Regions from separate parts of the Homo sapiens genome. Here all the other regions are linked to region 1. The links are contacts of gene promoters, found by promoter capture Hi-C in blood cells and fetal thymus (Javierre and others, 2016). All regions are on one chromosome and are shown on one strand. Each heading gives the region's core, a stretch centred on a gene start or on the middle of the fragment in contact. The rest is flanking DNA. Distances are from core to core; before and after follow the strand shown. Region 1 holds the start of KBTBD8 (kelch repeat and BTB domain containing 8). Region 2 overlaps SUCLG2-DT (SUCLG2 divergent transcript). Region 3 overlaps SUCLG2-DT (SUCLG2 divergent transcript). Region 4 overlaps SUCLG2 (succinate-CoA ligase GDP-forming subunit beta). Region 5 overlaps SUCLG2 (succinate-CoA ligase GDP-forming subunit beta). Region 6 overlaps SLC25A26 (solute carrier family 25 member 26). Region 7 overlaps LRIG1 (leucine rich repeats and immunoglobulin like domains 1).

What was found. Contacts are between HindIII fragments. The CHiCAGO score rates a contact against its expected background, and 5 or more counts as called.
Region 2: a contact is called between a fragment that was not itself captured here and the fragment with the promoter of KBTBD8 in region 1, in 2 of 17 cell types (naive B cells and total B cells). The highest score is 6.9, in naive B cells.
Region 3: a fragment that was not itself captured here is called in contact with the fragment with the promoter of KBTBD8 in region 1 in 2 of 17 cell types (total B cells and naive B cells); the score reaches 5.6 in total B cells.
Region 4: a contact is called between a fragment that was not itself captured here and the fragment with the promoter of KBTBD8 in region 1, in 4 of 17 cell types (total B cells, monocytes, fetal thymus and 1 more). The highest score is 10.2, in total B cells.
Region 5: a contact is called between a fragment that was not itself captured here and the fragment with the promoter of KBTBD8 in region 1, in 1 of 17 cell types (naive B cells). The highest score is 5.8, in naive B cells.
Region 6: a fragment that was not itself captured here is called in contact with the fragment with the promoter of KBTBD8 in region 1 in 1 of 17 cell types (fetal thymus); the score reaches 5.0 in fetal thymus.
Region 7: a contact is called between a fragment that was not itself captured here and the fragment with the promoter of KBTBD8 in region 1, in 2 of 17 cell types (fetal thymus and total B cells). The highest score is 6.1, in fetal thymus.

Annotation. Positions count from the first base shown.
Region 1 is chr3:66,996,538-67,000,894 of GRCh38, forward strand. KBTBD8 (kelch repeat and BTB domain containing 8) reads left to right here and starts at 1,770. Exons shown (of 4, transcript NM_032505.3): 1 at 1,770-1,834; 2 at 2,444-2,654. The coding sequence starts at 1,819. RefSeq lists enhancers at 1,428-1,527, 3,491-3,590 and a silencer at 1,868-2,187. The HindIII fragment of the contact is 2,180 bases long and covers 1,734-3,913 here.
Region 2 is chr3:67,692,199-67,696,555 of GRCh38, forward strand. The region is part of intron 3 of SUCLG2-DT (SUCLG2 divergent transcript); the gene reads left to right. Among named protein-coding and RNA genes, the nearest start is that of SUCLG2-DT, 40 kb to the left of the region's middle. The HindIII fragment of the contact is 1,550 bases long and covers 1,252-2,801 here.
Region 3 is chr3:67,672,073-67,676,429 of GRCh38, forward strand. All of the region lies in intron 3 of SUCLG2-DT (SUCLG2 divergent transcript), which reads left to right. Among named protein-coding and RNA genes, the nearest start is that of SUCLG2-DT, 20 kb to the left of the region's middle. The HindIII fragment of the contact is 3,259 bases long and covers 227-3,485 here.
Region 4 is chr3:67,648,166-67,652,522 of GRCh38, forward strand. All of the region lies in intron 1 of SUCLG2 (succinate-CoA ligase GDP-forming subunit beta), which reads right to left. Among named protein-coding and RNA genes, the nearest start is that of SUCLG2, 4.3 kb to the right of the region's middle. RefSeq lists an enhancer at 2,570-2,619. The HindIII fragment of the contact is 7,595 bases long and covers 1-4,357 here.
Region 5 is chr3:67,620,559-67,624,915 of GRCh38, forward strand. All of the region lies in intron 1 of SUCLG2 (succinate-CoA ligase GDP-forming subunit beta), which reads right to left. Among named protein-coding and RNA genes, the nearest start is that of SUCLG2, 32 kb to the right of the region's middle. The HindIII fragment of the contact is 2,752 bases long and covers 736-3,487 here.
Region 6 is chr3:66,376,083-66,380,439 of GRCh38, forward strand. SLC25A26 (solute carrier family 25 member 26) reads left to right here. Exons shown (of 10, transcript NM_001379210.1): 10 at 1,608-2,841. The coding sequence ends at 1,725. LRIG1 (leucine rich repeats and immunoglobulin like domains 1) reads right to left here. Exons shown (of 19, transcript NM_015541.3): 19 at 2,715-4,357. The coding sequence ends at 4,181. Among named protein-coding and RNA genes, the nearest start is that of LRIG1, 120 kb to the right of the region's middle. The HindIII fragment of the contact is 4,729 bases long and covers 1-4,108 here.
Region 7 is chr3:66,394,973-66,399,329 of GRCh38, forward strand. It overlaps LRIG1 (leucine rich repeats and immunoglobulin like domains 1), which reads right to left. Exons shown (of 19, transcript NM_015541.3): 10 at 3,998-4,069; 11 at 3,140-3,211. Among named protein-coding and RNA genes, the nearest start is that of LRIG1, 100 kb to the right of the region's middle. The HindIII fragment of the contact is 895 bases long and covers 1,671-2,565 here.

The DNA.
Region 1 (4,357 bases), core at 520-3,019:
GATAAAATACAGAACACCCAATTAAATTTAAATTTCAGATAAACAACAAATGATATTTCAGTTTAAATATTTCTCAAATAATGCATGCCCTGTATTTTTATTTGCAATATCGTCAGATGTTGTCAAACCCTAAGGATTAACGCCATTTTTTTCCTCAATACTAACCATATTGTCATAAAGTGCTACCATTTTAATAAATTAGAAAGCAACATCATAAAAACGAAAAAATAAAGTTATGAGTAACCAAAATTAAGTCAATTTCATCTATCCAGAAACGTGCATACAGGACATTCACAAAGAAGAAATTATAAGTGCATATGTATATGCAGAAACCCCAGTCATGAGGAAACACCACTTCCTGTTAACTTGCATGGGATTATAGTATTTTAAGTTCTAAATTTCTCAGCAGACCTAGAAGACAGAACTGAATTGTTTTTCATAATTATTTCTCTTTCTCAATCACAATTTAAATTCCAAGATCCTTTCTTTATCAAGAAGTTCAACGGTTTGATCTTTTCAGTGCTAGAAAAGTTATGCACACGGGCTAACTATATGTCTACTAGAAATTCTTCCCATTCGCTGATACTTCCTTACATTTTAACATCTAGAAATAGCATTCCCAATGTTAGCTCATTTGCACCTTACATTTATTTTTAAAATATGAAACATCTATAATGTGCCAGGCACCCCGTTAGATGTTAGAAACACAAGATGAGTAAATAAAAATTCGTCAACAGTAAAATTTTGATTTTCTTTCCAAAAGGTTGCAGCCTATGAAATCCATGGAGTACGGATTACTATTACTTCACGTTACAGATGAAGGATCTAAGCGCTCAGGGGTTGAAAGGTCTTATGTCAGTTCTCACATATAGTGACTAAAGAGCCAGGGCTTCAGTAATCATCCCTGGCTCCGGGCTCAGGGCATTCCGGTATTTTTTCAAAGGAAATTCCGGAATACTTAGTATTGTATCCCCTCCATTTCCCAAGAGCAAAAAGTAAAGCATCTTGGATCCCCTTGTAATGTTCACGTGAGGAACAGGTGTTCTCTGGGTGTGCTAGAAAAGCAAGGCACCAGTGGGAGTTGAAGATCCTAAGCAGCCGCTGTAACCAGACCAAGTTAATCTGTGGAAACCAGAGCACCCGGCCAAGGCGATGCTATTTCAATTGGGTGTCATAGGTGACTCATCAGAGACGCCTTGCTTTTGGGCCTTGTGATATTTTTCTTCAGGGTGGGACGTCAGATTTCCTTTGCATTTTTGGACAACAGCCCTCCTGTCCATTTCCACATTTTTCTGGTTTTACAGCTCTCACGCAGAGCTTGATTTCATACCGGAAGCTAGTCACTGGCAGGAAGTTTACGGAAGAAGAAAAAGGTAAAAAAATGTGCCGGGGGCCAGGAGAGAGGCCTAAAATGGGGAAATTCGCACTTGAAGAGCTTTCCCTACCCCAGCCCCTCAGAATGACAGTTCTCCTCCGCCAGAAGACTACCTCTCCCGGCAGGCACTGCGCGCTCGACGGCCACAGGCTGGCCAGCTCCCTGCTCTCCACCTCCATCCGAATCAGCCAATAGGAATTCCCGGCTTGGGCCTCCGCCCGACCCGGACCACGCGGGAGCCGGGGCAATCAAACTACATTTCCCGACACGCATGTGCTCGCGTCGTGGCCAATCAGCGCCAGGAATTCGGAGGCTAGGGGTGGAGCCAGATGCACAGGACACCCCATTGGCCAGGGGAAGCTTAGAAGAGCCGGAACCCGGGAGCTAGAGAAGCGAAATGACATTTCCTTTTTAAATAGCTGGAGTCGGGGCCCCATCGAGAAATGGCCGCGTCGGCAGGTGGGTCGTGTGGTGGCCAGGGCGGCGTGGAGGGAGGTGAGGGGGAAGGTGGGCCGGGGCCGGCCACAGGCAGTGGGATGAGGACGTAGCGGTGCGGAGCTAGAGGGAAGGATGAAGCGGTGGAGGGGAATGAGAAGAGGGAGGATGAATGGTGCGGAGGGCGGTGGGCGGTCCGGCGGGACCGGGATGGGGAGGCTGGGTACCCGCCGGCGCTGCGCCCCAGGAGGCAGCGGGAGGCGGCTTGAGGGGGCACCGGCGGCCGCCGTTGTTCGAGCTTCCCTCGTGAGGCTCTGCCCTCGGCTCTCGGCGGAGTCCGCGCAGACGCCTCTCCTGGGCTGCGAGCGCGTTTCCTCCGCGAGCACGGGTGCCGGGCTCGCCGGGCTCCGCAGGAGCAGGCTGGCCTTTGAACTTGTTCCGCCGATCGCGCTCCGCCCTCTGTCTCCCAGATCCTTAACTCGCGGTCCCACGAGGTCGTGCGTATATCCACAGACATTTGTATATATCTTGTAGGGGGAAAAAGCCTAGCAAGCAGACACACAAACAGAAAAATCCCGCGATGCCGTAACTGGCTCGGCACTTCTTGTAGTTGTACGATTTTTCTCCTCCTAGATTTAAGTAAGTCTTCCCCAACACCGAATGGGATTCCATCTTCAGACCCAGCCAGCGATGCCATGGACCCCTTCCATGCTTGCAGTATTCTTAAGCAACTCAAAACAATGTACGATGAAGGACAGTTGACAGACATTGTAGTGGAAGTGGATCACGGGAAAACATTTTCCTGTCATAGAAACGTTCTTGCTGCAATCAGCCCTTACTTCAGGTATGATGATGGTAGGAACTTCTGTTGGTATCTGCACCAAGCTCCCTTTCCCCCTCAGTATTGTCCACTTGATGTTTATATTGAGATGCGATAATGAAATGAAACCAATGACTTTGTTTCTTGAGACTAGAAAACAAGTCCTCTCTTAACTAAGACCTTCTTTTGACTTGAGGGATTCTTCTAGATTTCGGGTGATTGCTTTTTAAGTTAGTGGGCCTGTGTGTGTGTGTTTGAGGTAAATGACCAGAAAATCTAGACTTGTGCTGGTCAGTATGGAAGCCAGTAGCCATGTGTGGCTGTTTAAACTTAAATTATAAGTTAAATAAAATAAAACATTTAGTTCCCCAGGTACACTAAATACTTTTTGAGTGCTTGCTGGTCACCTGCAGCTAGTGGCTGCCATATTGGGCAGCACAGAAATACAGCATTTTCATCATTGACAATTTTATTGGACAGTGCTGATCTAGAATTTCTTTCAAAAAGTTATCCATAATGCATGTTTCTTTAGTGTATGGGACTCTTTTATAAAATAGTTTAAAACATGTAGCATGTTCCTTCAAAAACAAATTACCACTCAATAGATTGTTTAAATGCTATGGGGGTCAAAGCAAGAATGAATATAGTTTCTTTGTGCCTAAGGCCCCAAATTAATAATATCCAAGATTTCTAGAAGTATGTTAAACGAAGTTTTTGTTTTTACTTATATTGTCTACTATAAAACTTTTAAAAGTAAAATTTAAAAACTTGGGTCTGAAAAATAACTTCCTACTTTAAGATGAGTGGAAAAGGCAGTTTTCTGCATGGGCTTAACTTCTTTTGTGTCAAATGCTCACTTTAAGCCTTTCAGTATTCACAAGTGGTGCATAAATAATAGTAAAGTTATCAACCACACTCTGAATGTGATTTTTCCTTTTGAAGGTGCTTACCTTTATAGGGCACATAACCATATAATGTTCCAACAGTAGTTTCTGGTTCCTCTTTCTCAGAATACTGGGTTAAATATAGTCACTTCAGTCTGATGCTTGTGATGTAACCGTTTAGACTTGCCTAGGGTAGGTCATTGGACTACTAAGTATTAATCATCGCAAGACAGTGAGCTGGAAAGAAAAAAAAACTCACATATGCAGAAGGTATGAAGTTTGGCCTGGTAATGGAAACTTCTAGTGAGATTCACTTACCCAGATTATCTATTAGATATGGTTAGGTCATTTGTATGTTTAAATATATGTCACAGTTACTACTTATCAAGCTCTAGGCTAAGCTTACTTTACATGTATTGCCTTATATAATCTTTATAATCCTATCTCTGCATAGTTGTTGTTCCATTTTACTTATGAAGAAGCTGAGGCTCAGTGAGATTGAGTTTTAATAACCTGCCTAAATCATCTATCCAACAAGTAAATGGCAGAGGCTACATTTGATTACAGAGCCAGGCTTCTTAGTAGCCATATGACTCTTAAGGAACAAGAGTTGGTACAGTTTCCTTTAAAACATTTTTATTGTATATTGCATTTGAATAGTAAAAACAAAAACAAAACAAAACAAAACAAAAACTGCAAAGTAAAAATGTCTATATCTTACTGAAATTTAATAATCTGGATTATATCATTTAAATGTCATACTTATGTATGCTTACTAAGTATACTTATTAAGTATAATACTTAGTAAGCATACATAATAAATATGATATATGTATACATATT
Region 2 (4,357 bases), core at 777-3,276, 700 kb after region 1:
TCTTGACTAGAGTGACACATGCATGGATAACAGTAGGGGCCAATTCTTTTTTACTATGACTTGTGGAGAAGCCATCTTTTAAGTTTTGTTTCCCAGACTCCCATAACTCTCAGTTCTTATTCTTTCCAAGGTCTGAATTTTAAGCATTTTCTTTCATTCTGAGAGCCACACTATAAACTTCCAAAATATTTATTTTCCCCTTAAATAGGCGAGAGTTGTTTTTTACTGTTCTCACAACAACAAAAAGACAGGTCTGATACAGAGATTCACAAAAATACATATTTCCAGGTATCACTCTGATTCCATTGAATAAGATATTTGGGGACAACATTCTAGGATTTAGTATTTTGAAAGGCTTTTTAGGTAATGCTGATTCAGTTCTGGTCCTGCAAAATACAGGCTGAAAATCCTGGACTTGATGCTTCAGACATATCCCTGCCATGAGCTGCTTGCTGTGCCTTCTGGCTGATTTGGATAAAGGCGCTCCAATTCTGAGGCTGATTGTATTTCTCTCCTTCCCTCTAGTAGTCATTCTCCTCCCAACCGGGTTCATTAACTAGTGAAAACTGAAGCCAAGTGAACAAATTGTCTGGACCTCTATGTTAAGGGCCATGTGTAGATAAGAGTCAAAGGAAGGAATGTTTGCAGGAATCCCCACTCTGCCGGGGTCTGGCTTTGGGAGGTTGGGTAACAATTTCCTGTAACTTCACGTACTTGTGGAGAGCACACTTTCCAATTGTGTTTCAGGAAAACCTATGTTTTCTAAGAAAGGTACAAGGGGGCTATTGTGGTATATATGTATATGCTTATTTACTTATTTATTTTCAGTTTGTTCTATGCCTTCTGCCTCCCAATGTGAGTCCCACAAGGGCAGTGTCTTAGTCTGTTTTCTTTTGCTTTAACAGAATACCACAGACTGGGTAAATTATAAACAATGGAGGTTTAATTTGGTTCGAGGTTCTTGAGGCTAGGAAGTCCAAAAGCATGGTCCTGGCATCTGGTAAGAGTCATCCCATGGTGGAAGGTGGAGTGAGCACACAAGACAGAGAGAGGCACCAGGGGCTGAACTTACTTTAAGAGGTGGGGCCCAATCTCTTATTAAGCCCCACCTCTTAACATTGTTGCATTGGAGATTAGGTTCCCAACATGTGAATTTTGGGGAGTCACATTCAAACCATAGCAGGCAGGGACCTTTTCAATTTTGTTTCCCTCTGTATGCTCAGATTCTAGAATAGTTTCTAGCTCTTAGGAAGCTTTCATTAAGTAGTTTTAGAGTGAATTAATTTTTAAAACATCAGACCTTTACAGAGGTTTTACCAATGGTTCTGTTATTAAATATTATTTTGAAAGCCTCTCCACTATAGCAGTATTGTTCAAACCCAGTGCTACAGACAAGCTACATCAGAATTACCCAAGGAACTTAAGATGTAGTTTCCTGAGATGTTCCTGAAGGGGTTGTTTCAGTGAGCCTGGAGATTCATATGGTATGTTTATGATTATTACTATTATGATTGATGTTATTACTGTAGTGATGGCTGTTTTGAATTTGCAAGGTTTAAATGCACTTGACTAGATGATTGCCAAAGTCTCTCCCTGCACTGACATCCTAACAGGATGGTTCTGGTGAGAAAAATAAGCTCGGACTTCACCTAAGTGGCCCTGAAATTCCTTCCTTTCAAAATTTGGCTCTCTTCACAAGGAGTTGCTATATTGCCTCAGAGGATTTTGCTTCCTTGCTTTAGGGATGGGGAAAAGAAATCCCCTGAAATAATTTCAGGGCTTTGGGATTAAAAAAAAAAAAAAGGCAAGCAGAAGGGGGCAACTTCATATTCCTCTTGGGACTCTGGGATTTCTCCAAGATAGTAGGAGTTCTTGTTTATTAAAATGTCTTAGGTATGCTTCTCTTTTGTGGCAGGCACTATCGATTAGGCAGCAAAGAAGGTAGACAGATTTTCTGCTCCACAGAGCTTACAGTCTTGTGGAGGAGACGGATGTTAGATAAACAATGGCATAAATAGGGATTTAAATAACCATCAAGACCAATTCCTTATTTGGGAATATAGCAGTTGAAAAGGTGGAATTAAGTATTTATTCTTAGTGGTTCTTATATGAACTATATTTTAAAATAACCAAAAAGCCCAAGGTGATCAAGGAAAGTTTAGTTTTGTGTGTGAAAAAATTCTTACCAAGAAAGGAGAAAGGAGTGATAGAATCCACAAATCACTATTTTATTTCCCTTAAATAAATAATGAATGCAGGCTACACTCATCAATGAATGGAGCCATTAAAAGGAAAGTTTGTGGGGAAATTGGCAATGAAGGAGTTAGGCTATTACATTCCTACTGTTACCTAGCATTTATTGTCTCAGTATTCTGGAGGCCAGAAGTCCAATATCTGGCAGCACTGTGCTCCCTCCAGGGATTTTAGGGGAAAATTCGTTTCTTGCCTCTTCTAGATTCTTGGTTGCTGCCCTAGTGTTTCTTGGCTTGTGGCTACATCACCGCAGTCTCTGTCTTCATCTTCATAAGACCTCTGTGTTTCTCTTTCAAACTCTCTCTGCCTCTGTCCTGTGAGAATACATATGATTGCACATACAATCCACCAAGATATCTAGGGTAAATTCCTCTTCTTAAGATGCTCAAGTGAATCACATCTTTTGCCATGTAAGGTAATATTCATATCTGAGGATTGGGATGTGGACATATCTTTCTGAGGGGCGCCATTCACTCCACCACATGTGTCTTCCAGTGGGATGCACTGTGAAGTACATAGCCTCATTTGCAATCTTTCCTTGACAGAAAAGCTTTTCTGTGTTTAACCAGACCGTTGGAGCTTATAATCATTTATAGAAAATATTGGAGATAGAGAAATAAATGAAATAATCCAGGCTTAGTGGCTAGCTCCTGTAATCCTAGGGCTCTAGGAGGCCAAAGCAGGAGGATCACTTGAGGCCAGCCTGGGCAAACTAGAAAGACGCAATCTCTAAAAAATTTAAATTTAAATTTAAAAAAGAGCAAGAGAAAGTGAAATGACTTTCTAATCAGGTAAACACAAAATATGGAATGTTCCATAGGATAATTGACTTTTTTTTTGTGCTAATCAATGGCATGGAACAAGGTGAAAGTGGGCTGTTCTAGATTACAAGATTTAAAGACACAGCAACCAAGTTTTCTTGTGGACCCTGTATGAGTACTTATTAGACCAAACTAGCTCTAAAAAGACATCTTTGAAATGATAGAGTAATTTGATTTAGAACTGGGTGTGAGTTGGTACTTAGGAATTGGAATGAATTTGATTAGCAGTGACAATAACATTGTAGTTGTGTCAAGTACTTCTTGTGTCCTGTGTCACATCCTCTCAGTCCACCTTTTCACCCCAGCTGTTGCGGCTACCCCTAGTGTTGCCCAGGTAAAGCCTGATAGCACCTCCCCTAAACTTCACCACATGCCTTTCTTTCTCCTCTGGGTGCCTCTGTTCCCCTATGGGACACCTGTGGTAACTGTTCCAGCTATTCTGTCTCTTTCTGAAGCATTCCATTGCCAATCTGGGAGTGTAAGAGTTAATGCTCCGTGGGGTGATTCCTGACCAGTGGGTAGGAGAATCAGTGGATAAATACTTCCCATTGTGGTCACTCAATAAATGATCTAAATTGCATTCTACAGCTCCTCTGAGAGTCCTCAGCAGAACCCAGCCCCATGTGCCCACGGAATTAGTTCTCTGAGAATGCATAATGCATCATCCTTGGGTAGGCTTTCCCTCCTTCCCTGTTTCAGTCTTCTCAGCCCCACACTCCTTGGGATCACTTCCCAAAATAACAACTTACATACAAGCCCCTGTTTCCAGCTCTACTTTTAGGGGGACCCAGGCTGAGATAGTGTTTTTTTTAAAAAAAAAACTCTCAGGCTGGGTGTGGTGGCTCATGCCTGTAATCTCAGTACTTTGCGAGGCTGAGGTGGGTGGATCACCTTAGGTCAGGAGTTAGAGAAAAGACTGGCCAACATGGTGAAAACTTATCTAAAAATACAAAGATTAGCCGGGAGTGGTGGTACATGCCTGTAGTCCCAGCTGTTCGGGAGACTGAGACAGGAGAATCACTTGAACCCAGGAGGCGGAGGTTGCAGTGAGCCAAGATTGCACCACTGCACTGCGGCCTGGTTCCAGCCTGAGTGACAGAGTGAGACTCTCAAAAATAATAATAATAATAATAATTTTTAAAAAATAGCTGATTTTTTTTTTTTTTTGAGATGGAGTCTCACTCTTGTTGCCCAGGCTGGAGTGCAATGGTGCGACGTTGGCTCACCACAACCTCCACCTTCCGGGTTCAAGTGATTATCCTGCCTCAGCCTCCTGAGTAGCT
Region 3 (4,357 bases), core at 606-3,105, 680 kb after region 1:
CAAATGGAAAGAATACAATTAGAAAGATTTTACCTGAATTATAGAAGCCTCATAAAGCAGTGAGAGCCTAGAGGCTAAGGAGTCATGGGGAAGTTAAATAAAGTCTTAGTCATGAAGATCCTGTTGAAGCTCTGTCTGTATCCCCTAAGTGCTTGCCTCTGTAGTCAGCTTACTGAAAACCCTTTAATTCTCTCCACCTAAGGTCATTTCTCTGTCTTTGGAAGCAAGCTTGGCCAGCATGCAGGGCAGGCTAGAAGTGCAGAAAGGTTAATGCTCCAGGAATCAATCCTAAACCAATAACAGAAAGTTGGTAGATAAGTACCTTAGCACCTTTGCTTCTGGGAAGGGGTAATTCTAAAGCTGTTCTACTTTGTTTTGAGTTCCCCCAGTGAGTTGGGTTCTGTTACCCACAGCAGTCAGCTGCTCAATAAATCACCCTTTATTATCTTCCTTCTCTGTCTCATGTCTCAGTTTTTCTCCCTCTGTGTCTTGGGATCACTTCTCAAATAAACTTCTTGCACCAAAATCCCTGTCTCAGAGGCTAATATGGGGGAAAGCCAAAGACAGACGTTAACCACCATGGCACGTCTATAGCGTATTGGGTTAAATATTTTATATACATTAATCCATTCAATCCCCATAATGAAGATAAGAGGTGGGTATTTTTATTCTTATTTGATGAATAAATGAAGTCTGAAAAGTTAAGAAATTTACCCATGTTTACACTTTATGTGGCAAAGTCAGGTGCCCTGCGCCCCCAAGTGAGTGAATCCCAACCCTATGTTTTGTATTTTTGTTTTTTTGGTTTTTTTGAGACAGTCTTGCTCTATCACCCAGGCTGGAGTGCAGTGGTGTGATCTTGGCTCACTGCAACCTCTGCCTCCTGGGTTTAAGAGATTCTCATGCCTCAGCCTCCCAAGTAGCTGGGATTACCGGCACCCACCACCACACCCAGCTAATTTTTGTATTTTTAGTAGAGACAGGGTTTCACCATGTTGGCCAGGCTGGTCTCCAACTCCTGACCTCAGGTGATCTGTCCGCCTTGGCCTCCCAAAGTGCTGGGATTACAGGCGTGAGCGACCATGCCCAGCCTCAACCCTATGTTTTACACACTATAAAAACTCTCAGGCTAGCTCCCTTGGAATTGTGGAGTACAGAATTAACCCAACCTCACCTGTTAGCACTGGAAAATGTCAACATCTTTTTCTTATATTTATGATAGTGCCCAGGAAAGGACTGGGTACATTACAGCTCCCAGTAAAAGCTGGTTAAATTGCAAGGATTTTTTCTTTATTTGTTGTGACTCTTGTGAAACCTTGACCAGCAATTTAGAATGAACATTGGCTTTGCTAGCTGTGTTTGCAGAAGTAATATCAAAATGATATCCTATTCATGTTTCTGCAAGAGTAATGTCTACCATTCATTCTGGCCTCACTGATGGTGTGCTGATAAGATTACTATAAGTGAACATTCTCATTCTGTGCCTCTCATTATTGAGGAAGGAAACTCAAGGAGTTCCAAATATATTTTATTTTTTTAATATGATAACATGCACACACAATTTTCCTCATTCTTGAATATATGCAATTTATCTATCAGAGCAGGTTTCATTTTTTATGCACTTGCATTTATTCCTTTCTCATCCATGTGTCAGAGAGAAGGGATTGTAATCACTGAAGGAGCATTTGTATAATAAAAGTGATATCTGCAATTCCTTCAGAGAAGAGCGTGAATAAATAATCTGTACATTCTTAATGCATTGCTCCAAATATGAGTTTCAATTTGCACAGAAGTTTCAATAAATTGTTTTGTGTCCCTAAAGACCTACAGATGCCTCATGGGATACATTGTAAAGGATTCCATTTAGAAAGAATTTTGCTTGTGAGTAATATATTCTCTATACTTTTCTTCCCTTTGTTAATGCCTAATGACATTGAATAATACAATCACTTTTTTCTTTTAATAAGTGATAGATACAACATGAACTTCAGTCTAAAGTTTCTGACTTGTTCAGAATTCATCAACAACTTTTCATTCAAGGATTTCAAAGCACAGCATACAACCAAAATTGAGGTCAAATTGTGATGTGGTTTGGCTCTGTGTTCTCACCCAAATCTCATGTTGAATTGGGATTTTGAGTGTTGGAGGCAGGGCCTGGTGGGAGGTGACTGGACCATGGAGGTGGTTATAATGGCTTCGCACCATCCCCCAAGTGCTATCTTGTGATAGAGTTCTCACGTGATCTGGTTGTTTGAAAGTGTGTAGCATCTTCCCCTTCTCTATCTCTGTCTCTCTCTCTCTCTCTCTCTCTCCTGCCATCCGTAAGAAGACGTGCTTGCTTCCCCTTCACCTCTGCAATGATTGTAAATTTCCTTAGGCCTCCCCAGCCATGCCTCCTGTACAGCCTGCGAAACTGTGAGCCAATTAAATCTCTTTTCTTCATAAATTACCCAGTCTCAGGTAGTTCTTTATAACACTGTGAGAATGGACTAACACAAATTGTAACTTGAATTTGTATAATAATTAACTTTGCATTTAATAAGTAATGCACACTACGCTAAGTTTTATGTATTTTATCTTTACAATATTCCTATGATGTGGGTGCTATACTCATTTTATTGATAAGCAAACTGAGGCTGAGAAAGGATGCTTTGCAGGAGGTCACACAATTGTTACAGTGTTTAAATATTAATCACAAGTTTTGTCATTTTATACCTTTTTAATCAGTACTGTACAGACATTCCCCTGCAGGTTAGCCTAAATGTCAAATAATTTCTCTGTAATAGTTGGTACTTGTTCTGAAGGCATTAAATAGCTTGTGATTTACATTATGTTGCTGAAGGTTTTACATAATACTTTGCTTGAATTATTATAAAAGGAACGGCAGTTAACATTGTTGTTACATCTCAATCAATGTTAACCAATTCAACTTAGACAATAACATCAAATTCTTCATGTTTTTGTTGCTTTGGTGGTTTAGAAGGGTTCTGAAACTCTTTACATACATATGCCAATGATTCATTTCTGGATTCATTGTGCTGGTAGTATGGATGAAACATGCTGTTTTAAACATAAATTAATTACAATGGGCAGAATAAATAAAGATTCTACCTCTTAAATTTATTTATTTATTTTATTATGATGATAATTTTTTTGAGACTGAGTCTTGCTCTGTTGCCCAGGCTGGAGTGCAATGGCATGATCTCGGCTTACTGCAACTTCCACCTCCCAGATTCAAGTGATTTTCTGCCTTAGCCTTCTGAGTAGCTGGGACTACAGGTGTGCATCACTACACCCAGCTAATTTTTTTTTGTATTTTTAGTAGAGACAGGGTTTTGCCATGTTGGCCAGGCTGGTCTCGAACTCCTGATCTCAGGTAATCCACCTGTCGCGGCCTCCCAAAGTGATGGGATTATAGGTATGAGCCAACATGCCCAACCTACCTCTTAAATTTAAGTAATTTTTTTAGCTTAAGGATGTTATGAAGCTTCAAGTCTGTTATCTAGGAAGCTTATAACACTCTAACATTAATAGAGTATCATTTTTGTAATTGTTTATAAAATTTCATGTGAAAAATGGGAAAGAAGGGAGCCAAAATGTTTTAAAAAATCTTTTTGGACCTCTAACCTGTGCCAAGCATATTCCAAGGTGTTAATTACTTCCATTGCATTGTGGTAACAGCTTGAGAAGTGGAGTGCTGATAGTCCACATCCATTTTATCAAGGTTATGCGAGGTCAAGAAATTTGCCCAAGTTGAAGTCACTTGGAAGTGTCACAGTGGGGATTTTTTTTCCTTTAAAAAATTAAAAAAATTTTTTTCTTTATGATTTTTTTATGCATGTGTATTTTTAGTAGAGACAGGGTTTTGCCATGTTGCCCAGGCTGGTCTTGAACTTCTGAGCTCAAACAATCTGCCTCAGCCTCCCAAAGTGCTGGGATTACAGTTATGAGCTACCGCACCTGGTCCGGTGTGGGAATTTTAATCATGGACAGTCTAACTTCACAGTGCAGGCCTTTTCTGTTTCAGCATATCCCAAAACATGGATGACACAAACCAGTAACTACAAAGATGATAATTGGTGCTATGTGAAAATTACGTTTTTATATGGGCCAAATGAATTTGGTTAACAATAGGTGGAACAAAGTTAACCGTATTTCTTTACTATAGGATTTCTCAGAGCCCATAATATGCTAATTCACAAACTAAATCTGAGTTATGGCAGGCTCCTAGGATTCTAACCCCCTAGCCTACCTGTCCTATCTGATCTTCCACTGAGTGAGGGTGGGATTTGTGAAACTGATGGGATAGCACTCCTGTGAGTAGGCGATATGATGTAGCAAAAGTGAAGGATCACAA
Region 4 (4,357 bases), core at 1,339-3,838, 650 kb after region 1:
GTTCAATAATTTGCTCCAGGTTGCAGAGAAAGAACATGGGAGATCCCATAAGAATTTGAACTCCGTTGAATTTGAACCCAGACTTCGTGTCTTTAATCTCCCTACTACTCTGTTGACAAGACCCTGAAGCCAGAGAGAGAGGAAGGTGGATAAGAGTCCAGAAAGGGCAACCATGCCAAGTTGATCAGCACACCTTCATCAGCACAAGTCCAAATGACCAAAGGCGAGTGTCACTCAAGGGCAAAAAGATGGGGAAAGGTAAGCAATCAGTTTAACTGCCTAGTTCAGCCCAACTAGGATCTTTCAGTGACAGAGCTTAATAATTTAACAGCATAAGTCCTTTATCAGCATGAGGCGGGTGACTCCCTGGCACTGTGATTTTAAGCAAATGACTATAGGGCCTCTCTATGCCTCTGACTGCTTCTATAAAACATGGAGACTGTGAAATCTCCCCTGCAGTGATGTTGTAAGGGTTAAAGAAATAATGTGTGGAGATTACTTCACGCAGCCTTGTTATATACTACATGCCCAAGGAACAGTTCTATGATTATGAGGACCCTTTCACAACTAGGATTTCTATAGCCCCTTCCTTCTTCCTCATTTGCTGAAATGAGCCACATCATCCCTCAACTTCTCCTGTTCCTTACCTCCCTCTCCCTTCTCTGTGCACCCTACTCATTGACTGAGACCACAAATGCTTACTGAATACCAACTCCGGCCAGCTGGGGAATCACTCACGCTGTTACATTAAGCTGTATCACTTTGCCTTTGTGGAGCTTACATTCTTAAACTTGTAGGAGAGCGGGGAAGACGGCCAATGAACAAATAACACTACCAGGTACAGTCAAGTGTTATAAAGAACAAAGCAGATAAGGGTACAGAGAATAATCCCTGGAAAGGCAGGGCTGGGTAAGGTAATTAGGAAAAAGCCTATCTGAAGAATCAACGTTGAATCAGAAAGCTGATGAAGACAGAGATCAGGCAATGAATGATCAGAGGGAATAGTTCTGCAGACACAGGGTAAGTGGTTGACAGAGGCCAACAGTATCTTAGAAGGCTAAGAACACAGCTCAATTGCAGTACCCACTATGTTTTAGTATAACTACAGGTTTATAGGCCAGTTGTACCTCTGTGCCCTCTGAAGGTAGGAGCTGTGTTTCTTATTCCTGTCTGCATTCACTCAGTCATATTTATCTGCCCAACATTCTATAAAGAATGAGCTGTAATAAGCATTCAGAAAATATTTGCTACATAAATGATATTTGTTTGATTTTTCAGTTGTGGGGGTTAATTTTATTCCCTGCTGAATTCTGGGCTTTCTGAAGCCCCATTTAGACTTCTTTGTATACCCAAAAGTGCCATTGTCCCTCAACTTCTGCTATCCACCTCTCCCTTCTCCATACTAAACTGCTCACTACAACTACTCTCCCCCTGTTCTCTCACCTCTGCCTCTGCATGAATTCACCTGGACTGCCTTCTTCATCACCTCCACCTTCCTCACAAACTCTCAAGATTAATCTCCAAATTTCATTAGTGTACTGATATTATCATTTGTTCAAATATTTCCAAATCTCTCAAGTTCTTCAGTAAAACTTTTCCATCAAGTAACAGAAAGTGATGCATCAAGTGACAATTGCAGATTGAGTGGTAAAGACAGCTGAAGGACAAATGATCTGAGGTTACTTATGTAATTTCTTTTCCTCCCCCAAATATGCCATATTTCAGTGACTTTCTGGGCTTTGCGCCTGCAGAACTAGACCAGGGTACGAGGGCAGGAATGTTCTCACTACTGTGGGTCTGTGCACTCAATCACTCACCCATAAAAGAAATGCCTTATTTACAGCAAACAAAACCAATTTAGGACAAAGCTATCACTTAACGGTCTTCCCCACAAGGAAGGTCAATAGTTTAGCATCTAAATTATTTGAGATGGATTCCCTTTTCTAAAAGCAGAAATTGCAGCTGTACTTCATTTTAAAAAAAGAAAAAAGTCAAATATTTATTCTCCTAGGCAAGAGGGAGATACAGGTAAGTCACAACTTCCAATGCAGCCGCCACAGCCTCATTTAGCTGATAAGAACTTGCCCATAACCTTTAGTCCTTCACTTACAAAAGTCATGCATTCATCTTTCTCCTCCCACTTCCGTAAAGGCAGAAAATTAGGCTGGAGCCATTCTTTCTGAGTATACAACAGCAGGGGCATGGGTTTAAGCAGTTTCTTTGACAACATACATTCCTCTGTAAGTCCCTGGACAGAAGCTCTGGGCTGCACAGAAAACATACAACAAGGATTCTAAAATAGGAGGCCTGGCCAGGCACAGTGGCCCACATCTGTAATCCCAACACTTTGGGAGGCTGAAGGGGGCAGATCACTTGAGGTCAGGAGTTTGAGACAAACCTGACCAACATGGCGAAACCCCATCTCTACTAAAAATACAAAAATCAGCCAGGCATGGTGGCGTGCATCTGTGGTACCAGCTACTCAGGAAGCCGAGGCAGGAGAATCGCTTGTACCCAGGAGGAGGAGGTTGTAGTGAGCCAAGATCAGGCCACCGCACTCCAGCCTGGGTGAGAGTGAGACTCTCTTTCAAAAAAAAAGTAAAATAAAATTGGAGACCTGAAAGGCAGTGCTTCTCCTACAAGAGAGCTCCATGAACTTCCACTAGCCAAAGAGAGGGGAAATACCCTAAGAGACAACAAAACTGTGCTTAGACTTAAGAACCATTTCAAACTCAGTGCCCTCAGCCAACATTTCCCCTAAGACTTGACTGGCAGTATGTACTCATATCTTGCCCACCATGGCAGTGCCTGGCTATATTACACCACCAAGTACTGCACACACTTTTCACTTGGCTATATGGACACAGCAACATGGCCCCTGTCTACCAGGATTTAGGTCTTTGGAAAGACTTCTAACCATGGTTAGACCCTTACTGCTAAATTCACTGAACACCACTCTGCTAAAAGTTTCAAAGCCAGCCTAACTTAGATTTATAACAGGGGGCGTGTACAGTACATTAATTACATGCCTGTGCTTTGGCTGCCAGGACTGGGATTCAGCCTCTGTATGGTTTAAACCCCTGAAACCTCCTTAGCAGACCCTGCAGGTCTCCACATGATTTGGCCCTTGTCTTCCTCTCAGACCTAGTCTACTACCACTTTCCCCCTCTAATTACCTAGACATGCCCAGCTCATTCTCATCTCAGTCTTTGCACTTGCTGTCTGCTCTGCCTAACACACTCTTCCCCTTAGTCTCACCTAGCTGGCTACCTTTCATCGCTCAGGTCTCAGCTCATATGTCAAAAAGGCCATCTCCAGGATCACTTACATATAATGCTGAGCAATGTGAAGTATGTGTATGCCTACATATAATTTCACCTAAAGTACAAAACTGAACAAAACCAGCGTTATAAGTCAGGGGACTGGTGACCCTTTGTAGGGTGGAGGTAGTGACAGGCAGGAGCACCAGGGGGCCTCTGGGTTGTTGTTAAATGATCGTTTTCTTCATCTGTACCTAGTTAGCTGGGTTTGCATTCAGTTTATGAAAATTCATCAAGTTGTTCATTTGTAATTGTTCATTTTTCAGTATGTCTTATATTTCAGTTTAAAAAATTATGCCAATCAAAAACACACCATATCAAATAGGTCTCCTCTGATCATCCAGTCTAAACTACCCTGCTGTGAAGCAATCCATTCTCCATCCCATGACCCTGACTGATTTTCTTCACAGAATCTGTCATTGGCTGAAATCATTTTCATTATTGGTTATATGTGTACTGGCTCACTCTCTCCCACCTCCATTAAAATAAAGTATCACGTGGCCAAAGACTCTGCCTGCCTCATTCACCATCCCCAAACCCCAGGGCCTACAACAGTCCTGCCAAATGGTATGGGCTGAATAAAAACTATATGAAAAATAAGAAATGACTAAAGTGGACCCTTTAAGGACGTACTATCAATCAAAAGTCAAAACAGTAAAGCTAACAGCAAAGGTGAAAAAAAAAAAAAAACTTCAATGACACTAAGCATCAGGAATATGTGTCAAATGTTAAATTTAACCATAGGGAGGAGGTAGACAAAATGTCATTCTATGGGTATCTTTGAGAGACCAGTTAAAGTTATTTCTCTAAGCAGAAACTGGGTCTTTTATTTCTGTACAGACAACAGTTTTTCACAAGGCCTGGTGGTATAAAATAGGTCTGGGCCAAGAGTGGCAACAGATTTCTGAGACACTTGGTGAGGATTCTTAAGTATGATGAGAGAAGTGGGCCATGTTTAACTGCAATGTCTGCCACGGGCAAGGGACTATGGAAACGTAATATCAAATCAGTGTACATGAAACAGATCATAGGAAGCA
Region 5 (4,357 bases), core at 862-3,361, 620 kb after region 1:
TGGGTGACACAGTGAGACTCCATCTCAAAAAAAAAAAAAAAAAAAGAAAGAAAAAAGAAAAAGAAAAGAAAGACACATGATGAGCTGTGCAGGCCAATTTTAGACTGAGTGGTCACCTTTAAAGAAATGACATCTGTGCAGAAATCTGGAGACAGAAAAGAGGTATACCTGTGAAGGAACTGAGGCAAAGCACAGCAGGCTGAGAGGCCAGCATGTTCCAAGGCTCTGGGGTAGGAAAGGGGTTGGCACGTGCACGAACAAGGGAGTATGGTGACAGAGGAGCATGAAAATGCCAGCAGGGACCAGATAATGCAGGTGCTGGTAAGGCAAATACAGAGTTTAGACTTCATTCACTCAGTTTTAAACAGGGAAGTGAGAAGATCAAATTCACGTTTTAGAAAAGCCACTGTTTTCTGTTTGGAGAATAAAACCAATTGGGAGAGAGCTGCATTAAACCAGATTAAGGTTAGCAAACTTTTTCTATAAAGAGCCAGATAGTAAATATTATAGGCTTTGAGGCCAGGTGGACTCTGTTGCAACTACTCAACTCTGCCTTTGTAGTGCAAACTAGCCATCAATCATAAATAAATTAATAGGCATGGCTGTGTTCCAATAAAGCTTTATTTGGCTAGCAGGCCAGTGTGCTGATCTCTCAACTAGACTATAGAGAAGGGCAGTAGAGGTGGGGACAGAAAGAAATGAGGGGATTCTGGATAAAGTTTGGTGATGAGGTAAAGCTTACTTGTGGATTAGATGTGGGTTTAAGGAAAAAAAAAAGAAATCTAGTATTAGACACACACACACTTTACAATGTTAGTTGATATGCATGTGGTAAATCTGATGTACCTGCTAGTCATAAAAAAGGCACTTCTTTAAAAACAATCTTAACCTCAAATCTTTTGCCCAAACTGGCCTTATAGTTTGAATGTTTCTTCCCTCCAAAAGTCATATGGCACTTAATCTCCAATGTGGCAGTATTGAGAGGTGGGATCTATAACAGGTAATTGGGTTCTGAGAGCTTTGCCCTCATGAATGGACCAATCCATTCAAGGATGAATGGATTAATGGGTTAATGGATTATCATGGGAGTGAAATCGGTGGCTTTCTAAGAAAAAGAAGAGAGATGAGAGCTAGTACTCTCAGCCCCTTCACCATGCATCCCTTGGGGACTATGCAGAAGAGGTCTCATCAGCAAGAAGGCCCTCACCAGATACAGCCCTTTGACCTTGGACTCCTCAGGCTCCATAACTATAAGAAATAAATTCCTTTTCTTTATAAATGACCTAGTTTCAGGCTGTCTCTTATAAGCAACAGAAAATGAACTAAGACATGGCCTATGTATTACATTTAATTATTGACATTTCTGCACATCATTCCACCACATCAGAGCTGCTGGGCCTTTGATCTTATAACTTTCTTCCATTATTTAATATCAATCTCAGCGGGCAACAGGCTACAGTACCTCTATCTGCTACAGTGGCCCATCTGAGATTCTCTCCTAGGAGAGAACACAAGGCCTCCCTTGATTACAGAGATGCTACATAGAAATAACAAAAACCAAAGACATTAAAGCTAAGGATTAATAAGATTGGCCTATCCAATGGAATACTGTAAAATGGTTCCAATGAATGAACCAGCTCTTGAAATATGTCAATGCAAATATATTTACAAAGCAAAACACAGGGGAAAAACTAGCAAGTGGTAGAACAAGAGGAACACATAAGAGTATGCACACTTAAATAGAAAATAATAATAGTAAACAATCTTAGGAAGATACATACATAGATATATCAAAACCATTTGGAAGGTGACATGCCAAGTTTAGGACACTGACTATGTTAAAGGGTCAGAAGGGATCATGGATTTTCCGATGAGACAACAACAGACTTCGATTTCATCACTTATACTTTACGTCTTTTATTTTAAAGTGATCTGAGCAAATCTGAGAAAATAGTAGTTGGAACTTCTTCACATTGGACCCACAGATGACTGTGATATTAATCTCTATACGCTGTTTTATCCTGAATAAAAGTTATCTATTTCATGTAGTTAATTTAATAACTACATTTAATTCCCCAAAGATGGGTTTATTAATAAAATGAAAGAAGGCAAGCTAGAAAAAGAAAAAAAATCTAATTACATTTAATAAAATTAATAATTTTCTAACTACTTTGAAAAGATTAATAAGATCTGAAGGAAACCTGAGATTATGACAGGCCAAAAGTCCATGTGACACATGAGTAACTGAGGCCTGAAGTTACAAGAGTAACGGACACTCCCTCAACAGGCCAGCATTAAGCACCCATCCCTGTGCTTAGGCACTGCCCTTGCAGCCTGCCAAGACAACATCTCTGCAGAACAGGTGAGCTCATGGAAGAAGGCGAGGATATTTGTGCCAAGTAGCTTGGTCTTATGTCAGGTTCATGTTCATAAAAATTGAGTCTCTGCTCACTTGTGGCACAAATAACTCTAGAAGTTGTTTCCTGAAAATTAAGTCACTGCTCCATCTCATTTAAATATATATATATATACCTATGTGTATGTATGTGTATATATATGTCATTCCCCCCACCCACTCAGGTGAGTCTCTGTGGTGGCAAAAGAGGGTCTGTGTTCCAAGAATCATCTCCATGCAAAGTGTTCATTTGAAAACAAATTGCGGCTGGGCGTGGTGGCTCACGCCTGTAATCCCAGCACTTTGGGAGGCCAAAGCGGGTGAATCACGAGGTCAGGACATCGAGACCATACTGGCTAATACAGTGAAACCCCATCTCTACTAAAAATACAAAAAAATTAGCTGGGCGTGATGGCGGGTGCCTGTAGTCCCAGCTACTCAGGAGGCTGAGGCAGGAGAATGGCGCGAACCCGAGAGGCGGTGCTTGCAGTGAGTGGAGATCGAGCCACTGCACTCCAGCCTGGATGACAGAGTGAGACTCCATCTTAAGAAACAAAAAATAAGAAAGAAAAGAAAACATTAAAAAGAGTACAATACTAGGCCATGGGATCATTCTTTAAATTTTCAAAAAGGGGAAAAAATCTTGTTCTGGGGCTATTCATTATTCATTAAAACCCGCCCAACTACACCATCAGAGCAGATCCTTTACAATACTCAGAGAAGGGAAAGTACTAGATATTTTTATTCAACCATGTGGCCCAAACACATCACCAGTGTGAGAGGAACAACAGCAGTGTTTTTCAAGATCTCTACCTCAAATGAGCTTGCACACTAAGCGGGTAAAGCAGAGATATTAGCAAAACACCAGCTTCCAGGGTGGCTGGGATAATGTACGTGAAGGTGCTTTGTAAACCCTAAAGAACCTACGTGCACATTCACCATCACCATTACCAGGGGTCAAACATGTCATCTCAATGCATCAGATTTGACTGTCTCACAGGGCCCTGCTACCATCTCCACACCCTGCAGTTAGCAATTTGTTAGCCCTCCTTAAATTACTCCCCACAGTCCTTTCCAATAAATCCAGATGAAAGCTTGCAAGGGACAGACTTTATTCAATCAACCCACTCCTGCTCCTTCTAAGGATCTAATAGTGCTTAATAGTTTAGGATACATTTGAGTTTAATGGGATTTACCTGATAGCAAGAGACTTCTCATCACTTCTTTATAGCGGCAGTTTTGAGTGACCTAGCTAACTCAATCTCACAAGTTTGCCTGTCACACTGGCTTGCCAAAGAAATGACTTGTAGAGTAGGAAATGAGCGACCTTCGCTGGGGAAATTCCTGAGATCATCTGACATTTTGAATGTTCTCTGTGCAGAATGATAATTGGTGTCTGTGAGGTCTGAAGTCCACTATTTGTGTTTAGAAAGACATTTCATTCTTGTTGATGAATAAAATACTACTGCTATGGAAAACTTGATCTTAGATGCTTTTAAAGAAAAATATAACATTGCAGAGAGCACCCTTTCTTTCACAATTTCATTGTCAAAATCTCCATTTAAGGAGAAATAATAATTTTGATGATTAAATTCCATGGCCCTCCCCAATATTCCACATAAAATGCCCTAGTTATAAAAAAGAAAAACACATGCCAAATTTTTCCATCTATGTTAGTCATCTCTTCTCTTATAGTAATTTGAATTTCTTTAGCCAGGGAGGGGGAGAGGGTAAATCATCCAAATATTACTTTTATCTATAAGAATAATCCATAGAAGTTAAATTCAAGGTGAGCTTTCAGAAAACTAGATATCATGAAAAGGAAACTTTAAAATAATCCCTGAAAAAAAAATTTATACCCAAGTGCAGAATGCACGGTAGTCAAATGAGCCTGTCACACTGTCCAGGAAATGTGTGAAATACATACTGTCATTCATTTGAAAAGTCCACTGTGATGACAAA
Region 6 (4,357 bases), core at 494-2,993, 620 kb before region 1:
GTAGTCAGAAGTGGAGCCTGAAGATGTAAAGAATTGCCACAATCTCATGATCAAACTTGAACGGATGAGGAGTTGGTTCTTATGGGTGAGCAAAGAAAGTGATCTATTGAGATGAATCTACTCCTGGTGAAGATACGGTGAACACTGTTGAAATTACAATAAACGATTTAGAATATTTCATCAATTTAGTTGAGAAAACAGTGGCAGAGTTGAGACGGTTGACTCCAATTTTGAAAGAGGTCCTACTGTGGGCAAAATGTATTGTGTGCTACAGAGAAATCTTTCATGAAAAGAAGAGTCCATCAATGCAACAATTACTATTTTTAGAAATTTCCACAGCCACTCCAACCTTCAGCAGCCACTACCCTGGTCAGTTAGCAGCCATCATTCAAAGCAAGACCCTCTATCAGCCAGAAGATTACAATTTACTGCAGGCTCAGATGCTCATGAGCATTTTTTAGCAATAAAGCATTTTAAAATTAAGGTATGTACAATTTTTAGACATAATTGCTACTGCATACTTAATAGACTGTAGTAGAAACATAACTTTTCTGTGCCCTGGGAAACGAAGAAATTTGAATGGCTTGCTTTATTGCAATATTCACTATTATGGTGGCCAAACTTGGCCTGGGACCAAACTTGAAATATCTCTGAGTCATGCCTGTACTCTTGGTGAAAAGGTTCAAAGGTTATGGAAGCGTGGGCCAGGAATGTGTCCTATAATCCACAGGCAGCAGGCATTCAGTTTAGGGCTTAAGACACATCCCTGGCTTGCCTTTTAGATATGGAATCATAGTCCTTGGACTTAGTTTTTTAAACCTGTTTTGTAATTTTTTTATGTTGGCATCTGTAGATTTCCTCATCTTTATCAGCTACATAATCATCCACTGTATGTTTATACTGTGCCATAACTTATATCACCATCAGCAATGCCACAATGAAAATTTTTGAACAAATATCTGAGTAGGTATGGGGAGGGGGGGCAGTTTTAAAGAATGAATCCCCAATTTGTATCCTCGTGGCATTGTAGTTTTACTTTGCATTGCTCTGATTATTCTACATTGCACCTTGGCTGGTTAGCAGCACCTTCTGTGATACCAAGGGGACTGTGCAGGTGGAGGCATGCTGCCCCCTTCACAGCCACAGCCCATTTGCCTTTCATGCCTTTAGACAGAAAAGGAACACAGGGAATCCATGGAGGTTCAACTCGTTGTCGTGACGTCATGTTTTGGGGTCTCGAAGGACAAAATGCAACTGAGTCAGTGGGTGGAGCGGCAGCATTGCCCAAAAATCTCTTCACTGAGCAACCCCTGGAGATCACTTTAGAGGTGTGGGCTGGAAGTGCCTTCCAGCCTTACCTAGGATTCAGCTCTTTAACACCTTTTTAAAAAAAATCAATTTCATGTTTCAAAGGGAAAAATGGCATGAAAGTTTTAGAACTACTGTTGGGACACAGCTATTACTTGCCTTATTTGGGAGCGTTCACAAGCTGTTTGGTAGTTAGCCACTAATGAGCATGGTGTATTGAGCTGAGCAAGCTGTGGGTATTGGAATTTAACCTTTTTTTAAAATACGCACAACATTAAAAATCCTGTTTTTTCCCCTAGATTATTTGCAGGTGTCTTCCCTCGAATGGCAGCCATCAGTCTGGGAGGTTTCATCTTTCTGGGGGCTTATGACCGAACGCACAGCTTGCTGTTGGAAGTTGGCAGAAAGAGTCCTTGAAGCAGAGACAAGCCTCACCTCCACTTCTGTCAAGAGAGGGGCCTGCAGTGCAAACCCTCTTCCGCTGAGCAGCTGTCTGAACTATAGGCCCCAGTGCTGAAGACCAGTTGTGCTAAGATACCGGCATGGAGATTGTGCCATCCGTGGTATAGGCTGGCTGGTATGAAGTCATTGGCCTGTATGCCAGAGAGCTAAGAGAAGAAAACGGGGTCTGTGGCGGTACTCTGAACAATTTCCTCAGAACCTCTTAATAAATAAGTTTGGTAATGCTGAGGCCAGGCCTTTTAGAGCTTTCATTTGATCTGTATCTGATCTTTCATTTCCTGCCACCTGATGGTGGATTCAGCAGAAGGCAAGATGGTTATAATTCTAAAAGAATAGCTTGTTTGTTTGTTTGGGAAAAGGAGACTTGGGGAAGAGTTGTGTATGTGGGTGTTTCTCCCCCTAGTTAATTCCTGTTGTGTAAGGGTAGGCTTTGTTGAAAAAGAAAGAAAGATTGAACTACAGGTGCATAGCAAGCACTCTTTCTGGGTAACTAGGCTGCTGGTTTTAATTACCCTCAGATTTCACCCATAAAAACGCACAATTGTATTATTTTACAGAGATGTGTCCAGCGCCCCCTGTGGTGTGTGAGAGAAAGCAGCTGCAACTCAAGTGACTAGGTGGGCCCAGCTGGCTTCGTGCAGGAGGGCACGGTGGGTGAGCCATTCTCGCCATTCTCATGTCAGACTGAAAGGAGGGCCTGGGCCAGCTTTGAAAAGGCAGGATGAAATGGAAAGGTCACCACACTTAGGGATTTTAGACCTTGACTAACAAGCTCCAGGTGTAGAAAAATTCAAAACAAAATGTCAGGAATCTAGCAGTGTTGTCTGCCCTGGAGCAAACAAACAGTATGTGATTTTGCTTCGCCTATTTTTTTTTTCTTTTTTGGGGGAAGATAATTAAAGGCAGAATGACTGCGTTTGTAAAAGAAGGACCACCAACTATACTGACATTTATAAATGAACCTTTATTAAAGACACTTCAATGCCATTTGTTAGACACTTCAATATTTTACATGGTTTTCAATGTACACTGTACCAAAATTTCTATAAATAAATAACTTTGTACATAAAAGTAATACTCCCTCTTTCACATTGCCTCTCAGAAGCAGCAAATTCACATATTTTGTGGAAGTAAGATTAGTCAGTTAACTGTCAAGAACAAAATTCTAAATGTGCTTACCTTTTGAACAGTGATGACACCTGACAGTAATTGTTAACTATTTTCTCAGTAACTCCCTTCAGCTTTTGGCCAAAGGAACATTTGAAGGACCTTGTTTCTATTTAAGTTTTACTAAATGACACATTGGCACTCATAAGATGGTTAGCTACCAGTCTCAAAAGTGCAAATTATACCCAGAACCCAGGTCAAGGGCTGTCCTTTCCAGTCCCAGCTCAGTTTCATCTGTGCGAAGGAATGGCATGGACAGGCCTGCTCTGGGTCCTTAGTAGAAATAAGGTAGCCCTGAAAAGTCAGAACTTCCTCCTTTCTGTCCCCCAAGGCCAATGTAATACTCATTATATTGGCAAAACGAAAACATCAGTATAGAAAAATCCACAGGTACCAACACCAGCAGCCTTTACCTTAATTTAAAAGTCTCAAATAGCAATCGAATGATACTGAGAAGGCCACATTTGCTTTTATCATAAAATAAGAGGAGGAGGAAAGGCAGTGTTTAACTGTTCTGACCTTTTGCTTGTGATGGATTAACAACCCTCATTCTACGCCTTACAGACGGACAGATTCTACGCCTTACAGACAGACAGGACTTAAACCTAAAAGGAAAAGCCATTCACTGCAAGTGTGGATGGCACTTGCACCCCTGGCTCTACAGACAGGGAAGCCTGTTGCAGGGGCATCCACACATGAGCAGTGCTCACCTGAAGCTCCTTCCGGCGCATGTGGAGTCCCACCGCACAGCAGCCTAGGGGTCTATGAAGTGCAATATAAATCCAAGGCCTTCCATCCTTCCCACCCCGCACCAAAAACTCCTGTGAACAAATGTGGTTGTAGCCTCTATAAATTCCAGCCATGCGTTAAGGCACCAGAACTATTTCCCCACCCCCTCCAAAATTAAACAGCAACCTGATACGAAAAATAATATTGTCAAAATTGTATAATTTTTTTCTGTTAACCATGCACTAAAGATTAAAATAGCCTCTGTAAAAGATATATATGAAATCTCTGAAAACTCTTATGTACAATGATATCAAATACTTTTTTTGCCTTTTGTACACAAATCCCCTCTTGCGTTTACTGTGCTTCAGATCCAAGTCCTGTGAGCGACTGATACTCCACATGGGAGTTACAACTATGTACAGATGAGTGACGCTTGAACCCAAGCTTCCTCGCAGCCTCTCCTACCTCTCTTTCCCGTAGAGATTGGTATGACAAGAACTGAGGTAGACAAAACCTAGCTTTTTGGTGCCAACAGCAGTGGCACCCTCTGTTTCCCGGGGAGCTGTCCTGTCAGTGGCGTGGACTCGGGACTGGCGTCACATGCTTTGGGGAGGTGGCCATTGGAAACAAGCAAGTACTGGGCTTCCGCGCGCTCTGGACTGCCTGAAGTTAATGAAGATGCAGGCTGTAG
Region 7 (4,357 bases), core at 868-3,367, 600 kb before region 1:
TTTTCTTTTTCATTTCTCAGCAACTAAGGATAAGCTTTTTAAACAGAAATCGGAATCGCCATCTCAGCGGACATTCCTTCCTGAGGAGTCACTTGAAGATAAGTCAACCAAGAGTCTAGCTGCCTTGTTCCTGGAAGACCTCAGAGCTGTGAGCTAAAGAATGATGGCTGGCCCACGATAAGGGAAGACTGGGAAAGAGAGCACACAGGCTTCCCTGCAATACACTGTCTCTGGTACATGGTGACAAACAGGAGGCACAGGTATGCGCAGAAATTCCAAAAACATCATGCAGGCCAAGAGCACGACTTTGGCTGCCTTCTCCACCCACCACTGTCCTCAGACATCAACAAAGCAACCAAATGGACTGGCCTTCCATTTTCTTCTGTTTCTCTCCAGATTTCTAATGAGCAGAGAAACTGTCACAGCAAGGAAGAATGAAGTGTAAGCAGATGACCCAAGGCTAAATTAAGTAAAATCCACTCTTCCTCATGTTCCCCATCACCCCTAGATGAGTTGGGCATCTTATTAAAATAATTATAATTTTGGAAAGTGCTTTTCCAAAAACAGAAATAACTTATCTCAAGGCCATTATAACTGGGATGCTGGCCCATATTAGATCTTAAAATCAGCATGAGAGTTTGCATTTTTATTTCACGGGCAGGTAGCGTTCTGCTGAGAGCCATCTGGAGGGCTGTCCTACTGTGGAGTCACTGCAGGTGGCGGAAGGGCTGTAACGGCCATCCCTGAGGAAATGGTCAATTCCCATGCAGTGTTTGGGGAGGGCAGCTCCCAGGAGTGCACCCTGCATGGGGGTCAGGGCTGGCTGCGCCAGGCATGGGGGGAACTCAGCCTGGATGGAGAACTCTCCGCTGTCAGAAGCACCTCCAGCTCCCCAGCAAGAGGGCACTTCCGTGCAGTCAGGCAGAACAGCCTGGGCACTGTTCACGAAAGCCTAGGAGAGAAGGCTGGGCCATCCCTGTGCGACGTTAAGCATTTGTGCAGGACACAAGGACATATTCCATTTGAACCACAGGAACAAACGGGAAAACAAATTTGACATTTATCTTTGATCAGACACATGTAGAAAGGGCTAAGCCTCATCCTACACACGCCCTGGACGTGTGGGGCTAACGCCTTTGAGGATTTCCTACTTCTTCCACCATGAAACCCACCTCAGACAGGAGGCCAGACTCCAGGAAGACAGTGGGTACTCAGGGTGGAGACAGCATGTTCCTAAACAGCAAGTTAGGACTGAGAGGATACATGGGGAGGGCCTGGGGCCAGGCAGTAGCGAGGATTCCAACCCCTAGGCTCTGCAGGCTCCTGCCGCCCTTCTTCCACCCGTGGAGAGCACAGCGCCATCGGCTCTACTGCCTTCTGCTGCCATCCCAGGGCTTTGCTGGCTCACATGGTGCATTTTCACGATTCCAACTCAAAGTGTGTTTCTAATCATCACTTGTGGAAATTTACCCAGAGGATGACTAAGTGCACAGTACAACCTGACTTGATCTGATGGAGAAAAAGACGACCAAGTGGAATTAACCATTTCTCTCATCTGAGGACTGGGCACAGGGCCGGCTCCAGCGAGGTATATGCAGCAACGATGGGAAACCCAGGCAGGAGACCGAGGCTGAGCCTCCAGAACCATGCAGAAGCACGCTGGAGGTCCAAGCTTCTGGAAGGGTCCAGTTCCTCCCAACTTCCCAAGGAAAATCTTATCCTCCTCCCTCCTTCTCTCAAAATACCTTCTTCCCGTTTAAATTGAATCAGGTATTTTTCAGTCCTGACATCATATCTGAAAGTTTCAAAGACAGAAAAGGTGAAAGAATTCCACAGTGAATGCTCCTGTGCCCCACCGCTTGTCTTCTACAACCAATGTTTCATTCCACTTGCTTTACTGCGAGTCCACCTCTGAGTCCAGCCTTCCCTTCCACGGTGGTCTGGAATCATCTCCTCCCCTGCTCTGGAAGGAGAGCCATGGAATCCTTTCTGTATGTTCCGTCTCACCCGACAGATGGAGGCAGAGCTGCTGAGGCTGGAAGAGGGAAGGCCCTGGGCACGGAGCAGCTGTCTGCAGAGCCCTGAGCTCCATGAACCCGTCACAGACACCCGCTCCAAGATCCAACCCTTGCAAGGACGGTATCTATTCAGCAGGCCTGAGGCTCACAGCATGCTGAACATCACAGGGCAAGTGCCCAGGCCACCTTCCCTCCTCACTCAGTCTGGTGTCACCCGGCCCGCTTCAGTTCCCAGCTATGGGGAATGCACCTCATTTCCCCAGTCCCAGCCTCCCTGCCCCAACTGAGGGTTCATCAAGAGTGGCCTCGGGGAATGGGGATGAGGTCAGGGCACAAAGATGACTGTCCTGTGGCATCTGCCATTCTGTCAGCACTTCTAGGAACCAAAAGTTACCCCTTCAGGGAACTGATATCATGGCTAGAACTTACTGGCTGTAGAATCAGATTCATGTCTAGCTAAAAAAAAAAAAAAAAAACCAGAAAGGAAAACTTGGGTGTTACACCTGAGGACCCAGACTAGCTCCCCTGCCAGAGTAGGATACAGGGAAGCTTTTCCAACCTTGTCACCCAAGAGCCCACAGTCCAAGTCCACAGTGGCAGCACCACCACCTGTGAACCGTGCCCAGAAAGCTTGGAAATGGTATGGGCAGACACCACTGCACCCCTAAGCATCCCATCCCCTCCAGAGCTCTGCCTTGCTCACAGCCCACCAGGCTCTGAAGTAGACCCTCTCAACACAGGCCTTTATCGTAAGCAAGCCCAAAAGATGAAAACTTGGCCCTGACATAATTGAAGGGGTGATTATCCACTTTATAGAGGAGAGTATATTTCACATTGCCTAGAATAGTGGTTAGCAAGCTTCAGCCTGCGGCCCGACTGCCTGCTTCTGTCAATGTGACTTTATGGGCACATAGCCACACCCACCTGCTTATGTAATGTCTATGGCTGCTTTCTGCTGCAATGATGCAATCAAGTAGTCATGACAGAGACTCTGTGGCCCACAAAATCCAAAATATGTACCATGTGAACTTTTAACAAGTGAGCATAATGCAATTGCAGAAGTTTCTTACTCTGAAAGTCTCCACTACCATTAATCAGACCCAGGGAATCCAGATACTTACAGCTCTTTAAGATTCTTCATCTTCACAAAGGCATCAAACTGGACAGATCTGATCGCATTCCCTCCAAGGTTCCTGAAACAGAACATACATTACTTATGCAAAGAAACCCTAGGTACACCTGAGGGGTTTTCAGGACAGTCCTGGTTTCACAGATGACCCACAGGGACTAGCCAGACCTGTGTCCTAACTACTATAAGTGGCTGTTGTTTCCCAAATCGCAACACAAGCCCATGGAATGACTCAGGAGCCAAGCCAGCCTTAGGGCACCATCAAAGCTGGGCTGAGGCCTGCTCAGCAAGGCAAAACCTTTCCCAACAGAGTTAGAGTCAAACTTGATTCAAAGAGGAAACAAACTAAGAATCACATACATGAGGCATCCTCCCCAGATGGCAACAGCATGACTGTCTCGGGTGGCTCTGTTCCCTTCCTCCCAGGGTCTCAGAAGCAACCACACCAAACTGGTTCAGCCCAGCACCTACTCTGCATTGTTAAGCTGCTTTAATGGAGGCAACAGGCTTGGCCAGGAGGAAGCGCGTTGGTGGAAGAGGCAATGAGGCCAGGGGTCCATGAAGGAGCCAGTGCAGGGGTTAGGCTGCGCAGCAGGAGGGGGGAGGGTATTTATCCAAATACCAACTGAATTAACTGGGAGCACATCCACTGGCCATATGTTCTGTAACTGTTCCTGGCATAGGCAACATAAAGGCCAAAGCTGAAGCTGACATAATGAGAAGGAAGCAGCTGGTGTTTCCAAATAGCCTGTTTCTCAGTTTACAAAGATGCGATTAAATTGCTAGCAGAACTCCCCGGCAGCCGCATTCAGCAGGCTGTGCCTCAGGGCAGGGCTGGTGAGATACTCACAGGTGCTCCAGGCCTTCCAGCCCCGAGAATGCTCTCTTAGCCACAGACTTGATCTTGTTTCCAAACAGAGTCCTGTAGTTTCCAAACATCCAGAAATTAAGGCCAGGGAAGGAAAGCGAAACAGGAAGGGTTGAGAGAAAGAAAAAGAAAAAGAAAACACACAATTAAGGTAGTGCTACCTGATAAGTCTGTCCAGTGAGGGGCAGGTGGAAAGCTGACCTGCGCTGAGATTACGGGTTTGAGGCACGCAGGCCTTCCCCTTTCTGAAATGAAATACTTTTATCTTTATTAGAATTTAATAGTGATGATAGGCTGGAATTGCATGTGCCGTCTGGCCTAAAAAAGGCCCCTCCCAGTGTT